3 separate regions of the Homo sapiens genome follow, and all the other regions are linked to region 2. The links are contacts of gene promoters, found by promoter capture Hi-C in human tissues and cell types (Jung and others, 2019). All regions are on one chromosome and are shown on one strand. Each heading gives the region's core, a stretch centred on a gene start or on the middle of the fragment in contact. The rest is flanking DNA. Distances are from core to core; before and after follow the strand shown.

Region 1 (2,803 bases), core at 71-2,570, 50 kb before region 2:
GTACAATCTATGGATTTATGGGACTTGGTCATTAATTGGATATGGAGTAGGAAGGAGGCAACTGATACATTTCTGGTTTGCTCAAGTAAAAAAATAGTGATTCCAGGCCCCACGAAAGGGAACACTCAAAGAAGAAGAGCTTTTGGGGAGTGGAAGATGACAAGTAGTATTTTACACATGTTAAGATATAAGTTGCCTGGCCAGGCATGGTGGCTCACTTGGGTTCAAGACCAGCCTGGCTAACATAGTGAAACCCTGACTCTACTAAAAATACAAAAATTCGCTAGGCATGGTGGTGCATGCCTGTAGTCTCAGCTATCTAGGAGGGTGAGGCAGGAGAATGGCTTGAACCCCAGGAGGCAGAGGTTGCAGTGAGCCGAGATCACACCACTGCATTCCAGCTTGGGTGACAAAGCAAGATTTTGTCTCAAAAAAAAAAAAAAAAAAAAAAAAAAAGATTTGAGATGCCTTCAAGACAGCCACATAAAAACGTCAAGAAGACACATGGAGAGGCCTTGAGTTGTGAGGACAAACCTGAATGGAGATACAGATCTGGGAGGCAACACAGCTTACAGATCAGCAATTAAAACCAGAAGCATAAACGGCACTCCTTAGGAAGGGAATACAGGAGAAGAAAAGGAAGAGTCTTATGAGACCAAAATTCCTATGGGAGAGATGCTAAGTAAAAAAAAAAAAAAGAGCTGGCAAGGGAGACCTAAACCAGAGGTCTCTTCTATAGGTATTTTCAAAGAATGCTCTCAGAATACTTTCAAACTCTTCTGTGTTCCCATTTTCTAACTCTTTATTTCCTGCTTTTATCTTTATTAGTTTATTTTCCTGATTTCTCACGCTTATTGCTTGTTTTTGAAATTTCTGGACTCAAGTAGTCCATTATTTTCCCTCTTTCTTGTCTAAAATAAAAGGCTTTAGTCTATTATTTTCCCTCTGAATTCAGTTTTTGACATATTCAGAAAGTTTAACTGTAAATGATCACCATTAAGGTATAAATAACCTATATTTACAGTTTTTGCTTCCTTTTAAACCCAAGATATGTAGTAGTTCGCTTTTTAAAAAGAATTCCAATTTCGACAACTACTTTCTATTAATTTCTAGTTCTGTTTCATTGGAGTAGAAAATGTAGGTGCTTTGGGCAATTTTATTTTGATTTTCTTCACAGTGATATTTAGTCAATTTTTGTAAATGCCCCACAGGCATTTAACAAGAAAGTATTCTGTCATACAAAGTCCCAAATACTGCTATCAAATTGATGTTGCCAATTATTTCATTCAGATCCTTCAGAACTTATTTATTTTTTGGCACTTTGGTTTGTTAAAGATAGTAGTTTGTTAAACTCATCATAATGCTTTTCTATTTTCTAATATTTCCAATTTTTTTACTATACATAGTTTGATATAATTTTACTCTGTGAATGATCTTCACTGTGATTCATAAAATCACCTTTTTCTGTTCCTCTTAGTGCTTTCTTACTCTGATCCATATCTCATCTGATAATAATACAATGCCAAGTTTCTTTTTGTTTGAGTTGATCTGATGTTATCTTTGCCTTCTTTTATTTTTTCTAATGTCATTAATGTTGTTAGATCTTTTGTTTGGACTTTGATTTCTGACCAATCTTAGTATTCTTGTCTTTAAATGGGTAGTTTAATCAAATTACATTTCCTATTATAATGAATTTGCTATTACTTACATCACTTTATACATGTACTTTCTGATTTAAGCTTCCTTGACAGTTGCTTTGTTTTCCTTCTTTTGCTCTATGAACTGTTTTACTTGCTCCATCTTCTCCAATGTTGCAGAAGATACACGACTGGTTTTAAATTTTACTAATAGTTGCCATTATTTTTTTTTTTTTTTTTGAGATGGAGTCTTGCTCTGTTGCCCAGGCTAGAGTGCAGTGGCGCAATCTCGGCTCACTGCAAGCTCCGCCTCCTGCCTCAGCCTCCTGAATAGCTGGGACTACAGGCACCTGCCACCACGCCCGGCTCATTTTTTTTTTTTTTTTTTTTTTAGCAGAGATGGGGTTTCACCATGTTAGCCAGGATGGTCTCGATCTCCTGACCTCATGATCCACCCGCCTCAGCCTCCCAAAGTGCTGGGATTATAGGTGTGAGCCACCGCGCCCAGCCATAGTTGCCATTAAATTTTTAAAACCATTATTTAACCTTTTTTACTCAATTTGTCAGAGTGAAGAATAAAATAAAAACCAATATAAGCTTTAGCATTTAAGCATACCTTTAAATTATTTTCCCTTCTCTACCTCTTCTTTATCTTCATTAACATCACCTAGGGCAAGCCTATCCAACCCTCTGCCCACAGGCCTCATGCTGCCCAGGACAGCTTTGAATGCGGCCCAGGAGAAATTTGTAAACTTTCTTAAAACATTATGAGATTTTTTTGTGTGCGATTTTTTTTTTAAGCTCATCAGCTAATGTTAGTGTATTTTATGTGTGGCCCAAGATAATTCTTTCTTCCACTGTGGCCCAGGGAAACCAAAAGATTGGACACCTAGGGGTTTAGATGAAGATTGATTTTTTGTTTTTTTAGTAAGTACATTGAGATTTATAACAATTACGACACATCTCTATTTTAACTGTTTCAGAACCCTGCTTATCCCAAGTCCACTTAATAATTTCCCTATTCTTGACTTCTTAATTTTGCTTTATATCTCCATTGCTTTGCTATCTATAAGTAGTTTTGCCAAGGATAAAAGGGTGCCATTTTTTAAGCCCTTGTTTAAAAACAAAAATAAACAAATAAACCTTATCAGAAAATAAACTATTTT
Region 2 (3,095 bases), core at 183-2,682:
CAAGATCGCACCACTGCACTCCAGCCTGGGTGACAGAGCGAGACTCCATCTCAAAAAAAAAAGAAAAGACATACAGAATCCTGGGCCCACCTCAGACCTGCTGAGTCCGAAGTTCTGGGGGAGGAGCTTGTTTTAACAGGTCCTGCTGGAGATCCTGATACAAGCCACAGCTGGAGAACTACCACCCTAGACTTATTTGGCCCTTAAGCTATCTCCAGCCTTGGAGAAACTCTACTTTAAGGTTTCATTTCATGGATAAGCAAGGAGCATGGTAGAGTGAATGAAAAAAAAAAAAAAAGCCCTAAGTTTTGACTTCTTGGTCTGGTTTCTGTGCAGGGCAGCTGAAGAGAAAAACAAAAGCTTCCCCTTTACAACCCTCTCGAGCTCAGTCCAATCCCTAAAGCAGGAACGACACCAGCATTAAGGGGTCAGGGGCAGGGACCAGCCATTTCTGGGCCTATGAGATGCAGAAATCCATGATAAATGCTTGTGAGTTAAAAGTTGTGTACTTCCTCCTGCATTGATCATTTTCAAGAAGGAAGTTACACTCAGTCATTTCTCCTTTGGTAAACAGGATCGGGTGTCAGGACAAGGTGTCAGTTCAAAAAACCTATGCTGAGTTCTGTGCAATCTCTGTCTACCTATGTTGTCTACAACTGCAGTTCCTTACAGATTTCTGAAGCCTTGCCTTCTGGTCTTCGGGGGCCCTCTAGTCTCTGCCTGTGGCCTTGTTTACCTGAGATATTGTTCTCCTCTCTCAGAAACAGGACTCTGATCACATTGGCAGCAGTGAGCAGTAATTTGGGGTTGCACATCTGCAGCAGTAAGAGAGTATAATTCGCCTTGGTCCACTGGGTGCTGTTCGCAAACCAGTACAAGATCTCTTTCATCTTCTGTTCTACTGTTTTATCCAACATTTGGTTCAAGGAGGACTTCACAACTTTCCCCTCTTTCTTGCTGAGGTTGATCCGGGACCTGTTATAGATGAAATCCTTTCCCTGTGTGGTCTGAAGGATATTTTGGAAATAGTGTAACAAATATAAGCTATTTAACTGCTTCAGAATGCCAACTAGAAACCTCCTCTGTGATATGTCATTGATCCTGCAGAACCACTCTTTGGTAGAGAAGATCTTCCAGGCTAAGACACACGTCTCACACTTCCGGCATAGAGGGATGGAATCGGTTCCCTTCTCACAACGAAAATAGGGGGCATTCTTGAGCCTTGATTCCAGGTTTTCCATGATCCTAAGATAACCAGTCCATTTTAGCCCTGCGCACTTGCAACGGCAACGCCACCAAACACTAGAGGAACGGGGGGAATGAATAAATACCCCAGTTGTGCCTTTTCTATTACAAACGTCTCCCAGAGCAAAAGTAAATGGCTGCCATGGATGGAAAGCCTATCTCTCTCAGTAACTGCCAGCAGAAGTCTGGCTTTTTGTACAGACCTCCTTGGAAACATGGCTTTACCGTAAATCTCCTAAACCTGGCACTGCTTTATGTGGAGGCAGTTGCTGTATATTCTGAAAGAGCTGGTCATCTCATTTCTAGAACAACAAGAATACTGTTAGTCAAATTTAAGTAATATGTGGACTATTACTGGTATTGCACTTTAATTATTGTTGTTATATATGGCTTCTGAATATTCATGAATATAAAATAAGATGCAAACTTCTTATGTTTATATCTGTTCAGTTACAAACTGGCTATCCCAATGATGCTAAATATGTTTATATTCATTTTCTTAAGTCATCATCAAAGTAAAACCAGAAATGTTTAATGTAAATTTAAGTTATTTAACTGCTTCACAATACTAACCAGAAATCTCACTGTAGTCAAAGGGCCCAGGCAAAACATATTGGGCAGCTCACAGAAAGAGTTTCAAAGTCATGCTGAGATAATTCTCCTACTGCAGGTAAGACTCGGTTCAAACATTGACTCTGGTACTTAGGAGCTATATGGTCTCGAGCAGGCAACCTGTCCTCTCTGAGCCTCAGTGTCTCCATCCTAGTTATGAGGATGGAGAAGATAAAGGTGGGTAATAAAAATGATAACTACCTTCTAGGATTGCATTAAATATATGAGATCAGTTGTTGCTGCTATTGTTACTGTTACTAAGTATTATTACCCTAGATAAAATCAAAAGGTTTGCAATATTGTGTGCCTTTCTAATGCCCATGTTGAAAGACCAGGCACAACCAGAGAAAGGTAATGGAGTCCATCGCTGGGGTTTTGTTGGCAATGGCAGTCACATACTAGGGTCAGAATGGGGAATAAGAATCAGGTTAAGAATGAGATCAGTTCTCACAGCTCAACCTCTTCTGTCTGAAGAGGAATCTGGAGAAAAGGCATGAGTAGATTAATATTTAATTAATCGGGAAGGCCAGACAAAGGAGGGTGGCAAAGAGAAGGGAGGCCCGAAGCAGACTCTTTGGATCTGTAAGGCGAGCACGTTACCCTAAGAAGTGCTGCAAGCTAAAAGTAGCTCTTTTTTTTTTTTCGTAATTAACTTGTTTATTTATAATTGACAGATTATAAATAGCTTGTTTTTAAAGATTTAAATAAATTAGGATTTTAATCTATGAGGCTGACATTCTTCAAGGAAGCATTTTTTTTTTTTGGAGGCAGAGTCTCGCTCTATCCCCCAGGCTGGAGGGCAGTGGTGGCATCTCGGCTCACTGCAACCTCTGCTTCCCGGGTTAAAGTGATTCTCCTGCCTCAGCCTCCCGAGTAGCTGGGATTACAGGCATGGGCCACCATGCCCAGCTGAGTTTTATATTTTTAGTAGAGACGAGGTTTTGCCACGTTGGCCAGGCTGGTCTTAAACTCCTGACCTCAAGTGATCCGCCCGCCTCAGCCTCCCAAAGTGCTGGGATTACAGCGTGAGCCACCACCCCAGGCCAAGGAAGCAGTTTTAATCACCCAACTCAGTCTTTATTTCACATTTCAGGGCCACAAACTTGGGAGTCAGAGAGACTAGATTTCAGACATGAGTCTTATCCCCTCTCCCTCAACACTGCACACACACGGTTCTCCTCAAACACCTGTGGACCATAGTATGTTGTTGCCCCTCGGCACCTCCTTTTCTAAACAGC
Region 3 (3,079 bases), core at 297-2,796, 35 kb after region 2:
TAATCACTAAATATCTCTTCCTGCAATCCTCAAATCAAGCCTGGGGTCACCCTAGTTAGTTTATCACAACAGTGCAAATTATTCAGGATAATTTGCTTGGAGGAATTAATTTAACATATAAATTAATTTTCCCTTCACTGGACACATATCAGCCAAGCATACAGGCAATTTTAACATATAAGTTAGAAAATTAGACACTCATGATTTAAAAACTAAAGAATCCAGATTACCTACCAAAAAGAGATCAAAATATCAGAACATTTACTATCTAAAGCCCCAAATCAAACCCCCACCCCAGACTTTACCACAACCAAACAAACACACTGAGCTTTAGCTTAGGTTGTAAAAGGAGAGGAATTATATTCTCCATCATGAAGGGTAAGTGTGGTCTACACTACAGCCCACGAAAGAGAACCCTGTTATAGAAATATCCAAATGCTGGGCGTGGCGGCTCATGCCAGTAATGCCAGCACTTCAGGAAGCTAAGGTGGGCAGACTGCTTGAGCTCAAGAGTTCAAGACCAGTCTGGGCTATATGGCAAAACACCATCTACAAAAAATACAAACAAATTTGCCAGGTGTGGTGACGCTTGCCTGTGGTCCCAGCTACTCAGGAGGCTGAGGTGGGAGGATCAAGGATCCTGAGAGTTCAAGGCTGCAGTGAGCTGTGATGGCGTCACTGCACTCCAGCCCAGGCAATAGAGCAAAACCCTGTCTCAAACAAACAAACAAACAAACAAATCTGAGAGGAGAGCACAAGCATAGACCATACTACTAACAGTACAGTCAGAGTAAAAACTGAAACAAAACAAAAAAGGCTCTGTAAGTCCCAGAGTCATAACATTTCTAGAACTGTTCTGATTTCAAATATTTCATCACTATAATGTCCTCAAAATTTTAATATTTCTGGATCCAAATTATATTTAGGCTACAAGAGAATTATACCAATTCACTACAGTACAATCCACGAATTCATGCAATCCACCCATTAGAGGACAGACCTTTTGTTCAAGGACATCTGTCTTCAGTCTTTTGTTCTAAAATAAATTACCAAAGATGAGGACTCTGAAGGAACAACAATGGTTTCTACCAATCCAAAGCCAACTGGCTCCAGGAACTATGTTTGGAAATGACCTTGTTACCAATTGTTAACAAACATTACTTTAAGAAGTCCTATTCTAATGACAGACACTCTTATAGACGACCCTCCCCACCCCTTTTCAATTTCTTAAAGTTACGAAGGATTTTGGGCATTTCAAAAATTATTTCCAGATATCACCATTTATTCAGAGTGGTCTGTCTCACCGCTAATTTTCAGAACAAAAATCCTTTCTTCTCTAACTTCAGTTGTGCCTTCTGTAATTCAAGCCCTATTGAATTTCAAGCTGTACTAACACCGACTTCTTTAAACAGAAGAGAAGGATAGGAAAGCAGGTGAGAAGAGAGAGTTCAGAATAGCCCTTTTAGTGAGAAAAATAGAAAGCAGGGAAATCTCAGGTTCTGGCTAGTACACTGGGAATGATATGGGAAAGTCAAGGGACTCCAATCCTATACAATTGGATTACTCTCAGGTAACTGAAATGCATCTAAAACAGGAAGAAAAAAAAAAGGCAGGGAAAATAATTCATGGAAACCAAAAAAGTGACTCTAACATCAATTTAAGCTTAGGAAGATTTGAAAGAAAAAAAAAAGTTTGCATGTAAGTGTTGAGTCACAGCAACCAAAAAATAATGCCTGGCTTTATTAGGTACACATAAAATTTCTTAGAGCCATATACAGGAATTTTCATCAGGCAGCCTCAAGTAACTTAATCTGGTGATAGTCTGATACAAATTCATATGACCTTTTTTTTTTAATGTTTTCTAAAAGTGTTGACTCAATCTTCCCTAACTCTTCTGTTGGGATTGCATAATAGTTACTATGTAAGGCTGACAGTTTCCAAGGTAAATGGTTCTTACTTTCTGAGAACTGTTATAATTTCAGGCTTAAGGAAAGGGAAAAAAAAGAAAATTCTAAGAAAGTGGAGATGGAAAAAGCAAAATAGATTCCTCATCAACGGAAGACACAATAGTCCGGGCGCAGTGGCTCACGCCTGTAATCCCAGCACTTTGGGAGGCTGAGACGGGCGGATCATGAGGTCAAGAGATTGAGACCATCCTGGCCAACATGGTGAAACCCTGTCTCTACAAAAAATACAAAAATTAGCCGGGCGTGGTGACGGGCACCTGTAGTCCCAGCTACTTGGGAGGCTGAGGCAGGAGAATCACTTGAACCTGGGAGGCGGAGGTCACAGTGAGCTGAGATCATGCCATTGCACTCCAGCCTGGTGACAGAGCAAGACTCTGTCTCAAAAAAAAAAAAAAGACACAATAACATTAAAGAGCTATTTTGAGATAAGTGAAAAAAGATTTCTGAAAAGGTAGATGTAACAGAGTTTGGCCCCATTTTTGATGTCTGGCCATTGACAGCATTTAAGTTTCCACCATTTTCTATTCTCCCCTCCTCCACACTGCCCCACCGCACACCTGGTGCTTTAGATAAAGAAATCCATGGGCATCTCCTGAGCTCCCAGCACTGGCAGGAAGCTTGAATCCCTCAAGCCCACAGATCGAATGCTCTCCAGCCCCACTCCCTAGCTACTTTAAAGGCCCAGCCTCCTCTCTGTTCTTGCCATTTTGGACCAGCTTTCATCTATCTTGCTCTCCCCAGAAACCCTGTGTATGAATAGTAAACTTTCAAGTTCTCTTAGTGTGTGAAATGTCATCAGTCTTGACATCTGGCCTATTAACTGGGTCCCTCATCTCCCGGGGGGTGATCACAAAACAGTGGGATGAGGTAAAGCGAACAAAAGCTGCCCACAGGAGGGTATGAGCTGGGGGCAGGAATGACTACAGATTAAGGCAAAGTTTTATAGGAAGGTGGTATTAGGATATGTAATTAGCTATGAGCTTCTTTATTTTGTTTGGACATGGCACTATTTCCATCAGTACAAGAAGGGGCAACAAGCTCAGTTCTGCACAACTAGAATTTCTTGGCTTATTCCTGAGGCCAGGGAAGGGGGGTAAAATCACTGCATGGTG

Evidence for each region. Contacts are between HindIII fragments. The study calls those that stand out against the background at their distance.
Region 1: a contact is called between a fragment that was not itself captured here and the fragment with the promoter of FBXW10 in region 2, in 2 of the 25 tissues and cell types used here (mesenchymal stem cells and mesendoderm cells).
Region 3: a fragment that was not itself captured here is called in contact with the fragment with the promoter of FBXW10 in region 2 in 3 of the 25 tissues and cell types used here (bladder, mesenchymal stem cells and neural progenitor cells).

What each region holds. Positions count from the first base shown.
Region 1 is chr17:18,792,670-18,795,472 of GRCh38, reverse strand. All of the region lies in intron 3 of TVP23B (trans-golgi network vesicle protein 23 homolog B), which reads right to left. Among named protein-coding and RNA genes, the nearest start is that of TVP23B, 13 kb to the right of the region's middle. The HindIII fragment of the contact is 3,545 bases long and covers 1-2,803 here.
Region 2 is chr17:18,742,391-18,745,485 of GRCh38, reverse strand. FBXW10 (F-box and WD repeat domain containing 10) reads right to left here and starts at 1,432. Exons shown (of 14, transcript NM_001267585.2): 1 at 737-1,432. The coding sequence starts at 1,241. The HindIII fragment of the contact is 4,270 bases long and covers 1-3,095 here.
Region 3 is chr17:18,707,225-18,710,303 of GRCh38, reverse strand. It overlaps the pseudogene TRIM16L. Among named protein-coding and RNA genes, the nearest start is that of FOXO3B, 26 kb to the right of the region's middle. The HindIII fragment of the contact is 5,027 bases long and covers 1-3,079 here.